Regions from separate parts of the Homo sapiens genome. Here all the other regions are linked to region 3. The links are contacts of gene promoters, found by promoter capture Hi-C in blood cells and fetal thymus (Javierre and others, 2016). All regions are on one chromosome and are shown on one strand. The core of a region is centred on a gene start or on the middle of the fragment in contact, and the rest is flanking DNA. Distances in the headings are between cores, read along the strand shown. Region 1 overlaps FDFT1 (farnesyl-diphosphate farnesyltransferase 1). Region 2 overlaps MTMR9 (myotubularin related protein 9). Region 3 holds the start of BLK-AS1 (BLK antisense RNA 1).

Evidence for each region. The method cuts DNA at HindIII sites, captures the fragments that hold promoters and counts their contacts. A CHiCAGO score of 5 or more calls a contact.
Region 1: a contact is called between a fragment that was not itself captured here and the fragment with the promoter of BLK-AS1 in region 3, in 1 of 17 cell types (total B cells). The highest score is 5.8, in total B cells.
Region 2: a contact is called between a fragment that was not itself captured here and the fragment with the promoter of BLK-AS1 in region 3, in 2 of 17 cell types (fetal thymus and total B cells). The highest score is 5.4, in fetal thymus.

What each region holds. Positions count from the first base shown.
Region 1 is chr8:11,818,517-11,821,909 of GRCh38, forward strand. It overlaps FDFT1 (farnesyl-diphosphate farnesyltransferase 1), which reads left to right. Exons shown (of 8, transcript NM_004462.5): 4 at 3,234-3,362. Among named protein-coding and RNA genes, the nearest start is that of FDFT1, 17 kb to the left of the region's middle. RefSeq lists enhancers at 2,061-2,110, 2,121-2,170. The HindIII fragment of the contact is 568 bases long and covers 1,130-1,697 here.
Region 2 is chr8:11,294,275-11,297,454 of GRCh38, forward strand. MTMR9 (myotubularin related protein 9) reads left to right here. Exons shown (of 10, transcript NM_015458.4): 2 at 920-1,028. Among named protein-coding and RNA genes, the nearest start is that of MTMR9, 11 kb to the left of the region's middle. The HindIII fragment of the contact is 4,846 bases long and covers 1-3,180 here.
Region 3 is chr8:11,556,897-11,560,402 of GRCh38, forward strand. It overlaps BLK-AS1 (BLK antisense RNA 1), which reads right to left and starts at 1,369. Exons shown (of 5, transcript XR_948956.3): 1 at 994-1,369. It overlaps BLK (BLK proto-oncogene, Src family tyrosine kinase), which reads left to right. Exons shown (of 13, transcript NM_001715.3): 10 at 1,066-1,142. RefSeq lists an enhancer at 1,539-1,828. The HindIII fragment of the contact is 8,296 bases long and covers 1-3,506 here.

The sequences.
Region 1 (3,393 bases), core at 164-2,663, 260 kb after region 3:
AGGACTTGCTTTATGAATCTGGGTGCTCCTGTATTGGGTACATATATGTTTAAGATAGTTAGCTCTTCTTGTTGAATTGATCCCTTTACCATTATGTAGTGGCCTTCTTTGTCTCTTTTGATCTTAGTTGGTTTAAAGTCTGTTTTATTAGAGACTAGGATTGCATTCCCTGCTTTTTTTTTTCGCTTGGTAGATCTTCCTCCAGCTGTTTATTTTGAGCCTATGTGCATCTCTGCACGTGAGACGGGTCTCCTGAATACAGCACAGTGACGGGCCTTGACTGTTTATCCAATTTGCCAGTCTGCGTCTTTTAACTGGGGCATTTAGCCCACTTATATTTAAGGTTAATATTGTTATGTTTGAATTTGATCTGTCATTATGATGTTTGCTGGTTATTTTGCCCATTAATTGATGCAGTTTCTTCCTAGCCTCGATGGTCTTTACAATTTGGCATGTTTTTGCAGTGGCTGGTACCAGTTGTTCCTTTCCATTTTTACTGCTTCCTTCAGGAGCTCTTTTAGGGCAGGCCTGGTGGTGACAAAATCTCTGAGCATTTGCTTGTCTGTAAAGGATTTTATTTCTCCTTCACTTGTGAAACTTAGTTTGGCTGGTTATGAGATTCTGGGTTGAAAATTCTTTAAGAATGCTGAATATTGGCCCCCACTCTCTTCTGGCTAGTAGGGTTTCTGCTGAGAGATCTGCTGTTAGTCTGATGGGCTTCCCTTTGTGGGTAACCCGACCTTTCTCTCTGGCAGCCCTTAACATTTTTTCCTTCATTTCAACGTTGGTGAATCTGACAATTACGTATCTTGGGATTGCGCTTCTCGAGGAATATCTTTGTGGTGTTCTCTGTATTTCCTGAATTTGAATGTTGACCTGCCTTGCTAGGTTGGGGAAGTTCTCCTGGATAATATACTGAAGAGTGTTTTGTAACTTGGTTCCATTCTGTCTATCACTTTCAGGTACAACAATCATAGCATTGGTCTTTTCACATAGTCGCATATTTATTGAAGCCTTTGTTCATTTCTTTTCATTCTTTTTTCTCTAATCTTGTCTTCTTGCTTTATTTCATTAATTTGATCTTCGATCACTGATATCCTTTCTTCTGCTTGATCGAATCGGCTATTGAAGCTTGTTTATGCTTTGTGAAATTCTTGTACTTTGGTTTTCAGCTCCATCAGGTCATTTAAGCTCTTCTCTACACTGGTTATTCTAGTTAGCCATTTGTCCAACCTTTTCTCAAGGTTTTAAGTTTCCTTGCGATCGGTCAGAACGTGCTGCTTTAGCTTGGAGAAGTTTGTTATTACCAACCTTCTGAAGCCTACTTCTGTCAACTCGTTAAACTCATTGTCCATCCAGTTTTGTTCCTTTGCTGGTGAGGAGTTACGTTCCTTTGGAGGAGAAGAGGCGTTCTGTTTTTGGAATTTTCAGCCTTTCTGCTGTGGTTTCTCCCCATCTTTGTGGTTTTATCTACCTTTGGTCTTTGATTTTGGTGACGTACAGATGGGTTTTGGTGTGGGTGTCCTTTTTGTTGATATTGATCCTATTCCTTTGTTTGTTAGTTTTCCTTCTAACAGAGGCCCGTCAGCTGCAGGTCTGTTGGAGTTGCTGGAGGTCCACTCTAGACCCTGTTTACCTGGGTATCACCAGTGGAGGCTGCAGAACAGCAAATATCGCGGCCTGATCCTTCCTCTGGAAGCTTCGTCCAAGAAGGACACCCACCTATATGAGGTGTCTGTCGGCCCCTACTGGGAGGTGTCTCCTCCCAGTCAGGCTACATGGGGCTCAGGGACCCACTTGAGGAGGCAGTCTGTCCGTTACTGGAGTTCAAATGCCGAGCTGGGAGAACCACTGCTCTCTTCAGAGCTGTCAGGCAGGGATGTTTAAATCTGCAGAAGCCGTCTGCTGCCTTTTGTTTAGATATGCCCTGCCCCCAGAGATGCAATCTAGAGAGGCAGTAGGCCTTGCTGAGCTGCGGTGGGCTCCACCCAGTTCAAGCTTCCTTGCTGCTTTGTTTACACTGTGAGCATAGAAGTGCGTACTGAAGCCTCAGCAATGGCGGGGAGGCGCTTCCCCTCACCAAGCTCCAGCATCCCAGCTTGATCTCAGACTGCTTGGCTAGCAGCAAGCAAGGTTCCATGGGCATGGGACCCCCCGAGCCAGGCACTGGAGGCAATCACCTGCTCTGCCAGTTGCGAAGACTGGGAAAAGCACAGTATTTGGGCAGAGTATACTGTTCCTCCAGGTACAGTCACTCACGCCTTTCCTTGGCTAGGAAAGGGAAATCCCCTGACCCCTTGCACTTCCTGGATGAGGTGACGTCCTGCCCTGCTTTGGCTCACCCTCCATGGGCTGCACCCACTGTCCAACCAGTGCCAGTGAGATGAACCAGGTACCTCAGTTGGAAATGCAGAAATCACCCATCTTCTGCATCGATCTTGCTGGGAGCTGTAGACCAGAGCTGTTCCTACTGGGACATCTTGGAAGCAACTCTGGGTCTGAGTTTCTGTTTGTTGCCCTGATGTATATCCCCAGTGCCTAGAATGATACTTGTTACATAGGAAGTGCTTGATCCATGTTTGCACAAATGAATCTTTCTCATAATGAGGTTTCTCTAAACAAGCTGTTCTCCCAAAAACTTAAACCCAGCTTTATGTTGAAGCATCTCATTATACATTGGAAAGATGAAATGTGTAGTGAGACTTTGAATCTTCTTTTGAATCTAGAAACATTAGCATTTTTAGACCATTCTATTTTAATATTTATGAAATTTATGAAATAATAAGAAACATGAGGCCGGGCTCAGTGGCTTATGCCTGTAATCCCAGCAGTTTGGGAGGCCAGGGCTAGTGGATCATGAGGTCAGGAATTTGAGACCAGCTTGGCCAACATGGTGAAACCCCACTTCTACTAAAAATATAAAAATTAGCTGGGCGTGGTGGTGCATGCCTGTAATGCCAGCTCCTGGAGAGGCTGAGGCAGGAGAATCATTTGAACCTGGGAGGCGGAGTTTGCAGTGAGCTGAGATCGTGCCATTGCACTCCAGCCTGGGCAACATTGCGAGACTCCATCTCAAAAACAAAAACAAAAACAAAAAAAATGTGTGACCTAAATTAGGCTTATAGATGAACCATTGCAGTCATGATTAATTCCGCCATTGTTTGCCTTGTGATCTTTGGTGCCATGTCTGTACATATTTCATGATTTCTGTGTTTTTACGGTTTCCATTTCAGATCTCCCTTGAGTTTAGAAATCTGGCTGAGAAATACCAAACAGTGATTGCCGACATTTGCCGGAGAATGGGCATTGGGATGGCAGAGTTTTTGGATAAGCATGTGACCTCTGAACAGGAGTGGGACAAGGTTAGTCTCATAAAACAGTGTCTGTGTGTGA
Region 2 (3,180 bases), core at 162-2,661, 260 kb before region 3:
GTGGTGACAGTGAACATCTTTGTGTTATTCATGATTTTAGAGAGAAATAATTCAATCCTTCACCGTTAAGTGTGCTATTAGATTTAGGGGTTTTTTTGTGGGGTTTTTTGTAAATGCCCTTATCAGGTTGAGGAAGTTCCCTTCTGTTTCAAATTTGCTGAGAAATTTTTGGTTTTTCATGTTTTTAAATCAGAAATGGATGTTAGATTTTGTCAAATACTTTCACTTTTTTTTTTTTTTTTTTGAGACAGAGTCTCAACTCTGTCACCTAGGCTGGAGTGCAGTGGCTCAGACTCGGCTCACTGCAACCTCTGCCTCCCGGGTTCAAGCGATTCTCTTGCCTGAGCCTCCTGAGTAGCTGCATGCCACCACGCCCAGCTAATTTTTTGTATTTTTAGCAGAGACAGAATTTCACTGTGTTAGCCAGGATGGTCTTGATCTCCTGACCTCGTGATCCACCCGCCTTGGCTTCCTGAAGTGCTGGGATTACAGACGTGAGCCACGGCACCCGGCCCTTTTGCTTTTTATAAATTGATACATAATATGTATCACTTGGAAGTAAGGGAAATCTGAAGTGAACTGTTTTCCTATGCTCCAGAAATATCTCTCTACAAACACTTAACACATTAGTTACAGATCTTTTTCCTATTCTTTGAAATAAGGCCCCAAATAATCTCCATCAGAACAGTTAGCTTAATGTGAATTACTTTATATATTTGAAATTTAAAAAAGACATATATTGTAAGTAATGTATGGCTCACATTTTAATGATGCAGCCTTGCTTCTTCCTTAATTAGACTGAGGAGAAGAAAGTTAATATAGATGGTAACTACAACTATATTCTCTTTTCAAAGAAATAATAATATATTTAAAGTTAGTAATATATGTGTTCCTAAACATGATTTGCAATTTCTTACAGATTTGTAGGATCACTGGGTACCATCATCATAAAATGTAAAGATTTTCGAATTATTCAGTTGGATATTCCTGGAATGGAGGAATGCTTGAATATAGCCAGTTCCATTGAGGTAAGTATTTTGGAAGCAAAATCTAATGAAACATAATTTTATATTATGACTCAGTGTAGCTCTTCCATTTCTTCATTAGATAATTTAGTCATGTTCTCTGACTCAAATACTGAAGACTGATAGGAAAAGCCTCACCCTGGTTCATCGTCATATGAGTGTAATGGAACTTTCTTGACTTCCAGCAGTGTCTGGTGTTACTCACGTTATATGAGTAGCTCAATTCCATGAGTTGCTTGGAATTCCATTTCCAATGGCTTTGTGGAATTTCCATGAGTTCATATTGGTTAAATAACAGATACTGTTTCACTTGAGTGTATGAGTTCTTATTTGGGGAAACCATTAGAAGATTTAGTAAAGAGGTTCTTGGGAGAAATTTTAAAGTTTTGCTTGATATTTTATGTTCACTATACAAAGCTCTGTGCCAAAGACTGTAAACTTCTTTTTCTTTCCTTTACTTGAGGTTTGTTCAAGTAAAATCTTATATGGAATTGTAAACCAATAAAATAGATACAGTTAGAATTGCTTTTAGTCACATTACAGTGAGTAGGTAGGGACTGGGGGGACCTAGAAGCCCTCATTGACTTGACTATTCCCATCTGCCCTCTACAGAGTTCCTTAGAGACACTGCAAACCACTAGTGAGTTAACCAGTGCACTGTTCACTTCTCTACCAGGTTAGCAGCTAGAAGTGGAATTGTTTCTTCTTGAATATACTAGTATATCTTTTGTAATAAATACAGTTCTAAAAATTTGAATAGAAATATTAATAAATTAGAATATTATTGTACCATATTATTACATATATATATACACATTATTACATGTATTAGTACATTATTGAACGATAGCACAGTTTGATTCTTGATTTTACCACATGCTAGCTTGTGACCATTGGTAAAGTACTTAACATCTCTCTGATTTGTTTTCTACGTTTTATAAAACAAGGATAATAGTACCTATCTTTTAGGGCTGTTGTAAGAATTTTATTAGTTGATGTGTGTAGAATGGTTAGTATAATACTTGGTAAATAGCAGCTACCATTTGAGGGTCCTCTGTCATTACTTACTATAATTTTATGGTGATGCTTTTTTAAAAAAATTGTGGTTAGAAAACACTTAACCGTTTTTAAGTGTACAGTTTAGTAGGGTATAAAACTTTATTCACATTGTTGTGCAGCAGATCTCCAGGACTTTTTCATCTTGCAAGATCGAAACTCTGTGTTAAACAACACCCCATTTTCCCCTCTCTCCAGCTCCTGAGAACCCCCATTCTACTTTCTGTTTCTCTGAATTTGACTACTTTAGGTATCTCATATAAGTAGAATCATAGTACATAGTATTTGTCTTTTTGTGACTGGTTTTTTTCACTTAGCATAATATCCTCACAGTTCATCTGTGTTGTAAATTCTGACTTTTTAAGGCTGAGTAATATTCCATTGTTATGGATGCATGTGGTGAGACTTTTAAAAAGTTATTTCTTTTCTAAAGCAAGTAACTGTCACCAGTGATTATAGTTTTTTGTTTGTTTTTAGTAATCTGAATTTTCACGTATCAATTAGCTTAAGACAGGGTGTGTTTGCTTTTTATTTATATAAATAATATTGAATATTGGTTCAGATTACAAATAATAGAAATTTTACTTGGTTAGTTTAAATGGAAGAGCTCATACTGTTTTCTTTCCATTCTAACCAACTATTTTGATGTACACTGAAATTTTAAATTGCCTTATTTTAAACTATTGCCACTAAATTATATCAGTTAATCTTAGGTTTATAGTACTTTCTAGACTACTATAGGAACGTTGATTTTTTCTTTCCGTGTATGTGTAACTAATCTGGACTTTGTGTCCAAAAAATGCTATCAGCTTAGCTATTAAAAATGGGTAGAAAGTCTTAAAAATCTAGAAGTAGGATTTTAGTGATTTTTAAAACAGGAATAGAGAAATAGAGGAAAAACTGTTATAGTGCTAAGTAAATGGTACATAACACATTTCTTCCTGCCTTTGTTGAATTTTACTTAAGGAAATGAGAAGATGAACTGAACTGTTTGTCTTACACATCTGTCATTTGGAAGTAATGCATGATGTTGATTTGATGTAATTTGTTAAATTGAATGAGAATGCATGTAGTTTATAGACTGTTAAATTGAAATAAT
Region 3 (3,506 bases), core at 119-2,618:
AGGAGGAGGGTCCGCTGCGGTGGGTTCACCAGGCCAGGGGGTCCTGCAGATCTAGGGCATGGCACGGTGTGGGGACAGGGAGGGATGGAGGGAGGGGGAGGGACAGAGGGAGGGTGAGAAACAGGAGGGTGAAGTGGTTCTGACAGAGCCATGTTCTCAGCCCAGGAGCAGTTCAGACAGCATTTCTGGAGTGCATCTTCTGTGCCTAGCACTCTTTGATGCCTGCTGGGAGGGACAGAGCATTGCAAAGTCAGACGAACACCAGGCCAGGCATGCAGGGACAGTACTAGATCCAGGTCTCCTGCCTCCTGGTCATGCAACCATTTACAACTGTGTGAATATTTTACAAGGATGGCCAGAGAGGTTGGGCTTGATGGCCTCTGAGGTCCACGGCGTGGCCAAGTTCTCATGCCACTTTCTCACCCTCCTATGACCCTGACCGCACACTGCTCCTATAGGATCCTAACATGCCCATGTTGATATAGCTCCCTAACAACTGTCACCAAGGGGCCCCCGGTCGGAGGCTGTGCTGGGGGTGCCTCTAGCCTGCCCCTAGGGCAAGCATCCATCCCTCCCAGCTTTCTGATTCCAGGGGGAGCTGCATTTGTCCCCTGCACCAAACCTGGGGGACAGTTCTCTCCATTCTGGTGCTTTCTTGCTGATGCCTGGTCCTCAGAGGCAGAGGGTGTCTGCCAGCAGGGATCAAGGGAGCGAGGCCAACACGGGGGGAAAGACAAGAAGGGGCATGAAACTTCGAGTCAGAACTGGGGTCCCACTCCCAGCTCCCGGCTGGGTGACTTCAGACAGGTCCCTGCACCTGGCTGAAACCTAACTTCTGGGCAACTGCTGGTATATTGGCTGCCTCCCGGGGTGCTGAGACTGGCATTTTGTAAAGTGGAAGGCACTCGGCAGCAGTAGGTAGATCCTTCCTGATGCACCGAGAGATCTGAGGGTGCAAACTCCCACTTCCCGCGCCCATGGGGAGCCACTCACACCAGAGAGAGGCTGGCACCACCAGGGGCGGGTCACTTTGCAGAAGGGCACTTGCAACTTCTCTTTTCTTAGGATGCCTGCTGGATTTCCTGAAGACAGATGAAGGGAGCAGATTGTCACTCCCAAGGCTGATTGACATGTCGGCGCAGGTTGGTGAAGTACCAGGTGCAGAGAAAGGGCGGCATGTGCCACCTGCTGCCCACAATGGCTGCTCGTGCCTTACCACCCCATCCTCTCAGCCAGCAGGAGAAGTCAGGGGGTACTGAAGGCCACCTTCCTCTAGGCAGATATCCCCAAGGTCACCCACTGCACTTGGACTTGCAAACCCTGGCCACTGTGCCTCCTGCCCCACGCAGCTGTGAGGGAGCCCAGGGAATGGAGCCTTAGACCCGGGCTGCTGTGTTGGAATGAGGCTATTCTGTTCCGAAGGAAGAGAGGGCGAATGAATGTCATGGGAAACACACAGAGTTAGCAAGAGTTCCATTGAACCCGGCAGGCAAGTGTGTTCTGTTGTGACCTCATCTCTTCCTTAGATGGTGCCCACAAACATCTCCTGTAGGACTTCCCATCCCAGGGGCCCTCAGCCTTTGCACAGCCCTGGCGTCGACCCCAGGCTGATGGGCAGGCCTGAGCTACACACAGATGCCAGGGACATGACTTCTCTGAGCCCTGGAGGACAGCCCCACCTTCTGCCACCAGGGAATTGCGAGTGCTGGACCTCCTTGGCTACCCAGGACTGGTCCTCAGTGTCCCTCACGTTCACATGCAGAACTTTCTGGACTCCATGGGGTGAAGAGCAGAGTGGAGAGGAGGGTTTTAGCCGAGAGCTCTAGCTGGCAGGAAGCACATCTGGTGGCCCTGTTAAAACTGGAACTCTCAGCAGAAAAGTTTTGGTCTGTGGTCAGCCTGTGAGGCACACACGTGCGTACACATACACACACACATACAGCTGCCACCGAGAGGAAACGCTCCCACCCACCGCCCACATCAGCCCTCCCACCTCGCCCCTCGCCCAGCCTTACCCAGTAGCGCCGCTGCAGGAACTGATGCCACAACGCCTTTTTCCGCTGAGGTGGGCAGACAGCCATCTGGGCAGGCTGGTTTTGGAAAATGAGTGCTGGTAACCGGCTTCAAACCCCAGGGCAGTGATAAGCCTGCCCACTGCTGCTGCTTCCTTTCCCCTTCCTTCTCTCACCCTCCGCTGTCTCCTATTCAATCCCCACTACACCCCCTTGGGAAATCTCGTGTGACCCAGGGGCAAAGGATGTGAAAAGCCATCGGAGTTTAATACCTGGATGTAGCCACAGAATCGGGGGTGAGGAGCCAGAAAATCAGAACTTCCCAGAAGGGCAGCCTCTAACCACATGCTGACCATGCCAATGGCTCTCTAAGCACACATGTACACACACACACTCTCACACACATAAAAACACAGACTCACACACACACGGACAAACACAAACACATACACAGACTCACACAGACACGCAAACTCACACACAGACAGACACACACACAGACACACAGACTCACACACACAAACTCACACAGACACACAAATACACAGACTCAGACTCAAACACAAACTCACACAAACACATTTACACAAACTCACAAACTCACACACACAAACACACACACAAACACGCAAACTTACACACACATGAGCAGACACACACCCGGCCCTTCTGGGCTCTTCTTTTCTTACTCCATAGGAAGCCATGCAAAGTCTCGCCAGACCTTTCTTCCAAGGCCAGATCTGGCCAACCCCACAGGAACCCTGCAATCACAATCCCTCGGGCCCCACTTTGCAGCCAGATGCCACCGGTTCCCATGCCCCATGCCTCGCCACCCCTCTACCTCCTCTGCCCAGGAAGCCTTGAACACTTCCCACCTGGCAGAATCCTTATCATCATCCATGGCTCAAGCGTAATGTCATTTCTATGAAGGTTTCCCTGGACAAGAAACTGCCAGAGAGCCCTTAGCTCAGGTGTTCCCGGAAGCACTGTTCTTGCTCAGCAGATCTGGGCAGCTTCTTCTTGAAAGCAGATCTGGGCCCTACTCAACATTTTTTAAAATATATTTCTGGTACTGTTCAATAAATATTAGTTATCAGAACGAGTACTGTTAGATGCTGCCCAGATATATTTAGTACTCAGTTTTATATTCCCCACAGTCCCATATTAGTAAATGAGTATTGATTGCATGGTGTAGCAAGGGGATGGATGGATGCATGGATGGGTGGATGCGTGGGTGGGTGGGTGGGTGGGTGGGTGGGTGGATGGATGGATGCATGGATGGATGGATGGATGGATGGATGGATGGATGCATGCATGGATGGATGAATGGGTGGATGGATGGATGGGTGGGTGGGTGGGTGGATGGATGGATGGATCCATGGATGGATGGATACATGGAAGGATGCATAGATGGATGGATGGATGGATACATGGATGGATGCATGGATGTGTTGATGGATGGATGGGTGGGTGGATGGATGGATGCATGGATGG